Regions from separate parts of the Homo sapiens genome. Here region 1 is linked to region 2. The links are contacts of gene promoters, found by promoter capture Hi-C in human tissues and cell types (Jung and others, 2019). All regions are on one chromosome and are shown on one strand. Each heading gives the region's core, a stretch centred on a gene start or on the middle of the fragment in contact. The rest is flanking DNA. Distances are from core to core; before and after follow the strand shown.

Region 1 (4,208 bases), core at 1,105-3,604, 380 kb after region 2:
GGGGTAAGATAGAAATTACTGAATCAATATAGATACATTGCTTGTCAGTATTCTCGTATTTTTCTTATATTTGTGTTGTATATAATACTTATATTGTTAATTTGTATTTAAATTATTTTGAAACTTTTCAATCCTTCTGAAAGGTTTCAAGAATCATTTAGTGAGTACTCATACCCTTCAGGTAGATTCATCAATTGTTAACATTTTGCCACGTTTGTACTTTCCTGCTTGCTGGAATTATCTTTCTCTTTCACCTTCTCCATCTCTCTCCTCCCTGTCTTTCACACACAAACACAGACAACATCTTGACATGGATTTTTATGAAAGATTTACCTTGTTTTAAATTTATTAGAATTTCTGTACTTGAGACTTGGTAAGGCTCAACAATTCTAAAACATTCTCAGAAACTATTTTTATATTATCTCTTCTTTTTATTTCTTCTGGAATTTCAGTTATAGTATTCTCCCTTTATCTTTTAGTTCCTTGAACTTTCTTTTAAATTTTTAAACCACTGGCCTGAATTTTACATACTTATTTGGATCTATTTTACAATTCAAAATGTATCTCTTTAGCTACATCAAGTTTGTTGATTATGTTACTCATTTTGGTTTTTTAGTCAAATATATTTATTGTATATTTTTTATTTCTAAAGTTGAATTTGTTTTTTTTCCAAAATCTTCTTGTTCATATATGATCCCTTCTATTCTATTGATCTTTCTAAGCTTGTCTTTTATTTCTTTAGATATATCTTCAACATAATTTAGACTTTTATGTCTGTAAATTCCAATACCTGGTGCTTTTGTGTATGTTTCTGTTGTCTCCTCTTTCTGCCTGTTTGTGTTCATGTAAGTGTACATAGTATTTTGTGCTACTTGTTTTATCTCACCCTTTACCTGTGGCGATTCTTTGATGCCTAGGTAAAGTTTTATTCCTCAGTGCACACAGTTGCTTCTGCCACCTGTAGGTGCTACCATTTTGGGACCTTCATTTTTACTTTCTGCATAGTAGGGTGACTATAGTTAACATAGTTAACAACAATGTATTGTATATTTCAAAATAGGTGGAAGAGAGGATTTGAAATCTTCCCAACACAGAACTAATAAATGCTCACTGTGCTGGATATCTTAAATATTCTAATTTGACTATTACATGTTCTATGCATGTAACAAAATATCACATGTACCCCAGAAATATGTACAAACATTATGTGCCAATTAAAAAACCACAAACGGCAAAACCAGCTTTGGTGCTCACACACTTCCCGGTGTTTCCGGTTTCACTTAATTTTAGATTTTGCGGAATCCTTATTTTTGCATCAGCTCAGGAATGTGTTTAAAACTTCTCTATTTTGTCCATTATTTTAATATCTAATCTATCACTCTGTTGAAACAGAAAATTTCCAACTTTTATTTTATGTTTGTCATTATGTATTTTGGTTTCCCCATGTGATGGGAGAATTTCTATTTCATTAAATTTAATTTAGTTTTATTCTATTTGATTTAATTTAATATTCCATTAAATATATATCATAATTTATAAACTTATCTTCTGTTAAAGGTTTATATTTTATATTTTCATAATTATGAAAAATGCTGCAACAAACATTTACATATGTTTTCATGTGCATGGGTATATTTTAAATATGTATAACTAGTAGTTATGGCTAGATGTTATGGGTAACATTTTGTCCTCCAAAAACTAGTACCTCAGAATATGACCTTATTTGGAAATACAGTTGTCACACAGTATCCATGGGTGATTGGTTCCAGGACTCCTCATGGATGCCAGAAATCCATGGATGCTCAAGTCCCTTATATAAAATGGCATAGTGTTTGTGCCTATCCTACGTATGTCCTTCCATGTACCTTAAATCATCTCTAGAGTACAGTGAAATAAAATGTTATGTAGTTCATTGTTACACTGTATTGTTTAGAAAATGATGACAAGGGCTGGGTGCAGAGGCTTATGCCTGTAATCCCAGGACTTTGGGAGGCCGAGGTGGGCAGATCACCTGAGGTCAGGAGTTCGAGACCAGCCTGGCCAACATGGTGAAATCCCATCTCTACTAAAAATACAAAAATTAGCTGGGCATGGTGGCCCGTGCCTGTAATCCCAGTTACTTGGGAGGCTGAGACAGGAGAATTGCTTGAACCCGGGAGGTGGAGGTTGCAGTGAGCCGAGAACACGCCATTGCACTGCAGTCTGGCACGAACAGTGAAACTCCATCTCAAAAAAAGAAAAGAAAAGAAAAGAATGACAAGAAAAAACATCTATCCGTGTTTACTACAGATGCTTTTTTTTTTTCTTTCAAATATTTCAATTAGCTGTTGGTTGAATCCACAGACGTGGAACCTACAGCCCCCACAGCTATTGAGGGCTGACTGCAGTCATTGCAGATGTATTTAGTTCAGTTAAGATGAGGTCACATTGAAGTAGGGTGGCTCCTAATCTCATATGACTGGTGTTTGTCTAAGAAGATGGCAGTGTAAAGATACAGAGACACAAGGAGAATGCAATGTGAAGATTGAGGTGGAGATTATGCTGCCTCCAGCCCGCAAACATCCAGAGCTACTAAAAGCCAGAAAAGGCAAGGAAGGGTCTTCCTCTAGAGGCTTCGGAAGGCACCACACAACTGACATCTTGAATTTGGACATCTAGCCTCCCGAACTGTGACAGAATAAATTTCTATTGTTTAAACCAGCTGGTTGGTGGTGGTGCTTTGTTACGGCAGCACTAGGAAATTAATATACTAGGTTGCAGAGTATGTGCATATTCAGTTTTAGTAGATTCTATCTCATGCTGTCTAAAGTGGTTGTACCAATTATATTTCCATTAGCAGTGTATAAATAGTCCCATTGCTCCTTATTCTCGCTAATATATAGTATTATTAGACTTTTAAAACTTTTCTAATTTGTTAAGTGTGAAATAGTATTTTGCTGTTATTTTTAACTTTTATTTCCCCAATGACCTATAATATTGAACATTTTTTTCTTGTGCATTTTCCTATCAGACTTATTTTTTATGGATTGCCAGTTTATAAATTTCCCCTTTTTTCTTAATTGTTTATTGTTACTGATTCGTAGAAATTCTTCATATATGTGAGACCAATCCTTTGTTAGTTACAAGAGTCACAGATATCAATCTTCACCTCATGGCTTTCTATTTCCCTTTATTTTTGGTGTCTTTTGATGAACAAAATTTCTTAATTTTGATGTGTTGAATATATCAATACTTTTCTTCATGATTTGTGCCTTTTGTGTTTAAGAAATTCTTTCTTACTTTTAAGTCATACAAATATTCTACTAATATTTTTTCTAAAACTTATAATTTTGTATTTTTCAGATTAAGCCATTGTTCCATTGAAATGATTTTATTACCATTGATAGAGTAGTCCATCTTTTCCTTCATTGACTTCTAAGCATACATTAAGTATTTATACAAGTATGTTTCTATTTCCAAGTTATCTATTCTGTTCCATTTCTCTATTTTTCTATTGCTTTAGCAATATCACACAATCCTAAGAACTATTGTTGTTCATTTTATGACTTTTTGTCTGGGATACTCAACAGAAAATTCCCCAGACTTTCTTATTTTCTAAGATAAGCATTAAAGGCTATTATTTCTAAATTCCATTCAGCTTCATTCTGTAAGTGTTGATATGTAGTATTTTCACTGTTGTTCAGTTCTAAATGTTTTCTAATTTGTATTTTTACTTTCTCTTTTATCTATTGGCCATGTAGAAGATTTTCCCCTCAATTTCCAAATATGTGCATATTAAAAATTGTTATTAATTGTATTTTGGTATAATAGTAACAAAAATATTGTCTACATAATAGAGATTCCTTAGTATTTGTTGAGATGTACTTTATAAATAGCTAACTTGTGCCTGAAGATAAATTGTTTCCTTTAATTGTTAATTGCTAGGTTTAAATTTGTCCATTTGAGCAGTTGTTAATAGTGTTGTTCAAATTGTCTCTATTGTTACTAACGTTTATTGTTTTGGTCCATACATTGCAAAATGAAGTACATTAACATCTTTTATTATGACTGTGAATTTGTGAGTCTTTTATTCTGTAAATTTTTGCTTTTCTGTATATTTTGAGATTATGTTACTAAGTGCATGGAGGATTAGAACTGTTATGTCTTTCTGACAAATTGAACATTTTACCTTTATATAGTGATCCTCATTAATTTTAGAACTTTTTTGC
Region 2 (3,807 bases), core at 1,089-3,588:
TGGTCCTTCCAAGGCCACTCCCTGCTGACTACCCCCTCTTTCCCATCATTCCAAACAGCAGACTCAGATACCAATCCTGACTGCCTTCAGATGAATAGACAAGGTGGGGGGATGAGTCATCCAGGCTCCAGATGCCTATTCCCAGACATGGGCATCCCTTCAACTACAATCCTAACAGACCTCAGCTATCTTGTTTCTGCACAGACTACCAGCAGAGAAGCTGGCAGAAAGCAGGACTGTGGGCTTCAACATCAGAAGGCCCAGGGCTCAAGTCTCATCTCTTACAAGTCTCTTCCTCTGTCTGAGCCTCAGTCACTGCATAACATGGGGTTACTTATCCCTCCCTCACTGTGCTGTGCTGTAAGATGACTAGCACAGTGCTGGACACACAGCAGACCAGCGGTAAAGACCCTTGGTAAATGGTGGGAGGTGGTGGGTGAGGACCCCATCAATAAGCAAGGTGGCTCCTGGGATGAACATAAGCCACTTCTGAACCCAAGACTATAAAGGGAGAACAAGAGTACCTTGACCTCCCAGCAACCAGATAATGTTGATGGAGGCCTGGGGCTGGCCTTCCGGCATCTGCTGTGGCAGTACTAATTGGGATGTCCTGGGTCAGGAGTTTCCCACCCTTGTGGAAGGGAGCTCTTGGCCCTCCCTCTTCCCCCACTGCTGTTTCCTCTGGTCTGGGCTGGAGGGGCCCTGACTTACTGAATAGGTGTCAGCTGCAAAGTTCAAAGAATGCTCAGTAGGCATTGGATGACAGGGTGGGGCAGGGGATGGCCAGGAGCCAAATCCCAGCTCTGGGGCAAGGATGGGCAGATCAGGGGGCTTCCAGCAGAGATCAAGGGGCCCCCAGCTTCCTGGAGTGACTTCACACTAAGTCATACTGAAAGTTTACACTTCAAAGGGGTTACCTGTGTTTCTTTTTTCTTTCCTCCTTTCTTTTCTTTTACCCTCCACCAGCCCAGTCAGCCAGAGAACGGCATCAACAGACATGCTTTGAACTCCAGACCCTCCCTAGCTGTGCTACTCTGGACATGTTACTTCATCTCTTTGAGACTGTTTCTTCATCTGTAAAATGGGCATATTCATATCTCCCTCAAAGGCTGTGTGAGGCTTAGGTGAAGTCATGTGCATAAAGCACCGGGCAGAGTGCCTGAACGCAGTGGAGACACAGCACATGGCAGCCTTCATAACCATCACCTTCCAGTGTAGATAGAGCAGGATGCTTCATGAGTTGGTGCTGCCCACCATGGGGGCTGAGAGTGGGAAGAGTTTTCAGTCCCTCAGGCCCTTGCCCCCTCTCGGATGAACTAGCCCAGCCCTTGGTCAGGCCCCCTGGGCAGGAGACACCAGGTGGACGCGAATCCTCACCATGCACTTGCGGTCATCTATGCCTGTCAGATCCTCCTCAAACTCCTTCCCAACCTGGAAGTCCATGATGTAGTTCCTAAAAGTGCTCAGCGTGCGGATGATCATATGGTCACCGTCCTGCACGATCTCTTTGTCTGGCTTCAGCAAGTTGGCGATTTTGCGCAAGGCCACATTGACGTCTGCGGTGGGGGTTGAACGGGGAGAGAGAGAGCGCCAGAGAGTTGGCAGGGAAACTCAGAGAACCGTTCCCAAGGTAGCGGGGCCCCAGGAGCCCTCTCCGCCCGCGAACACTGTTAGGGTTCCCGCTGGCTTTGCGTTGTCTCTGCGCACAGCCTGCCTGTGCCTCCCCTGCCGCCCCCAACAAAGTTTTCTGCTCTTATGTTAACCGTTTAAAAACAAAAAGTAGCAAACCAAGCCCCAGATTTACTAATGAAATTACCCACCTCCAGGGCCAACGAGCAGACATTTGCCACCGGTTAACCTAACAACCCCGAATTCTCCAATCTGCAGCCTGGGGGCTGCCCTGGGAGCGGTGGCCGAGGACGCCCTTTCTGGCGTCCGGGGGCACCGGACCGCGGCTCGCCGGGATGGAGGCAGGCAGGCAGCGTCTCGGGAGGGCTCTAGGGAGCGGCCCGGAGCTGCTCGGCGGGGCGCCCAGGGCGCAGCGGGCAGCGCTTACCGAGGGCGCGCAGGTACTCCTCGAAATTCTCGTTGACCAACATCTTCCAGTACCCAGTGAAGTCGACTGGCATTTCGGGGAGTGACTGGAGCCAGTTGGCCACAAGCGGGCGGGACGGCTGGAGACTGCCGGGACAGCGGCTGCCGGTGCTACGCGGGTGGTGGGCGGCCCGGAAATGAGCGCCCTCCGGGGACAGGGGGCTCTGCGGGGCGGCGACAGCTGGATTCCCAGCGCGCACAAAGCCTGCGGGAGGATCCATTGTAGCGGTCGCTCCTCCCCGCTTAGCGAGGGCGGGCGCAGGGGCGGGGGATGTCGAAGGGTCAGGTTTGTCCAGGCCGCGCCACCTTCGTTTCAGACGTTCAGTTCGTTTCCCCTACAAAGGAAGAGGAGACCGGAGACGGGACGTTTGCTTTGTTGGCCGAACTCTTCGGCTGCTGGGGATTTCCTTCAAACGCCATTAACTTCTCACACTCAGCAGCCACTCGGGAGTTGGGAAACAATCTCCTGGGGTTTGTGCTGGCGTGATTAAGGAAAGAGGCCACTTACAGGCCTTTGTCTAAAGCCTCGCGCCGGTGGTGGCTGGGGTCAGGAAAGCTGGGAGGTTCAACTACGGGCGAGAAAATTGGGGCACTTTCCACGTCTCTCCCGAAAATAAAAGAAAGGATGCCGGGCACGGCGGCTCACGCCTGTAATCCCAGCACTTTGGGAGGCCGAGGCGGGCGGATCACCTGAGGTCAGGAATTCGACACCAGCCTGGGCAACACGGTAAAACCTCGTCTCTACTAAAAATACAAAAAATTAGCCGGGCGTGGTCGCGGGCGCCTGTAGTCCCAACTACTCGGGAGGCTGAGGCAGGAGAATAGCTTGAACCCGGGAGGAGGAGGTTGTAGTGAGCCGAGATCGTGCCACTACACTCCAGCCTGGGCGACAGAGTGAGACTCTGGCTCAATAAATAAATAAATAAATAAGTAAAATAGTTGATGTTATTTGAAGTGCATGTGGCTAAAAAAGCCTTCTGGGTGATTCTGATGCACAATCAACTTTGAGATCCACTGCTGCTTTATGCAAATGTAAGCAATATACTGTTTATTAATGTTTCCTCCCGTTTCACCTAATGGCAGCACTGTACTCCACGGTGTTCTGGACTTTGCTTTATTCACTTAATATATTCTGGAGACTTTTCCATAGCTGTACATAGAAAGTATCCCCATTATTTTACGGAGTATTCCATTGCTTATCCAGCTTGTCCCCTGATGGACAAACTATATTGTTTCTGATCTTTCACTATTAAAAGCAGTACTGCAATGAAAATCTTTGATCACATCTCCTTTGTCACCTGCGTGGGTATGTCATTGTGGTTTAACTGCATTTGCCACCAAGTAGATGACATAATCACATGGGCTGACTTTTTGACCCTCTTTTTGACTACCTCTTTTAAATCGCTTTTTGCACAAATCACAGCCTAAGTGACAGCAGATAACATTTTCTTCCCCTCTAGCACCACCTTCCCCAGGGTGCCTCCCTGGGGCTCACATGTGTTCTCACAGTGCAGGCTGAATTAGGAAAAGGAGCCTCTTCCTCAGGGTAGAGACAGCTTCCTCCCAGGCAGCAACTTGGATTTCAGCGCTTCTCACCCTCTTTCCCTAGACTAGGATTTGTTTCTTAATCTCTGTGCTACTGACATTCTAGGCCACATAAGTCTTTGTTACAGGAGCCTGTCCTGTGTACTGTAGGATATTTAGTGGCATCCC

Evidence for each region. Contacts are between HindIII fragments. The study calls those that stand out against the background at their distance.
Region 1: a contact is called between a fragment that was not itself captured here and the fragment with the promoter of RBP1 in region 2, in 1 of the 25 tissues and cell types used here (dorsolateral prefrontal cortex).

The regions. Positions count from the first base shown.
Region 1 is chr3:139,921,177-139,925,384 of GRCh38, forward strand. No RefSeq gene overlaps it. Among named protein-coding and RNA genes, the nearest start is that of CLSTN2, 12 kb to the right of the region's middle. The HindIII fragment of the contact is 5,320 bases long and covers 1-4,208 here.
Region 2 is chr3:139,537,404-139,541,210 of GRCh38, forward strand. RBP1 (retinol binding protein 1) reads right to left here and starts at 2,339. Exons shown (of 4, transcript NM_002899.5): 1 at 2,057-2,339; 2 at 1,378-1,556. The coding sequence starts at 2,315. All of the region lies in intron 3 of COPB2-DT (COPB2 divergent transcript), which reads left to right. RefSeq lists an enhancer at 215-1,414. The HindIII fragment of the contact is 8,428 bases long and covers 1-3,807 here.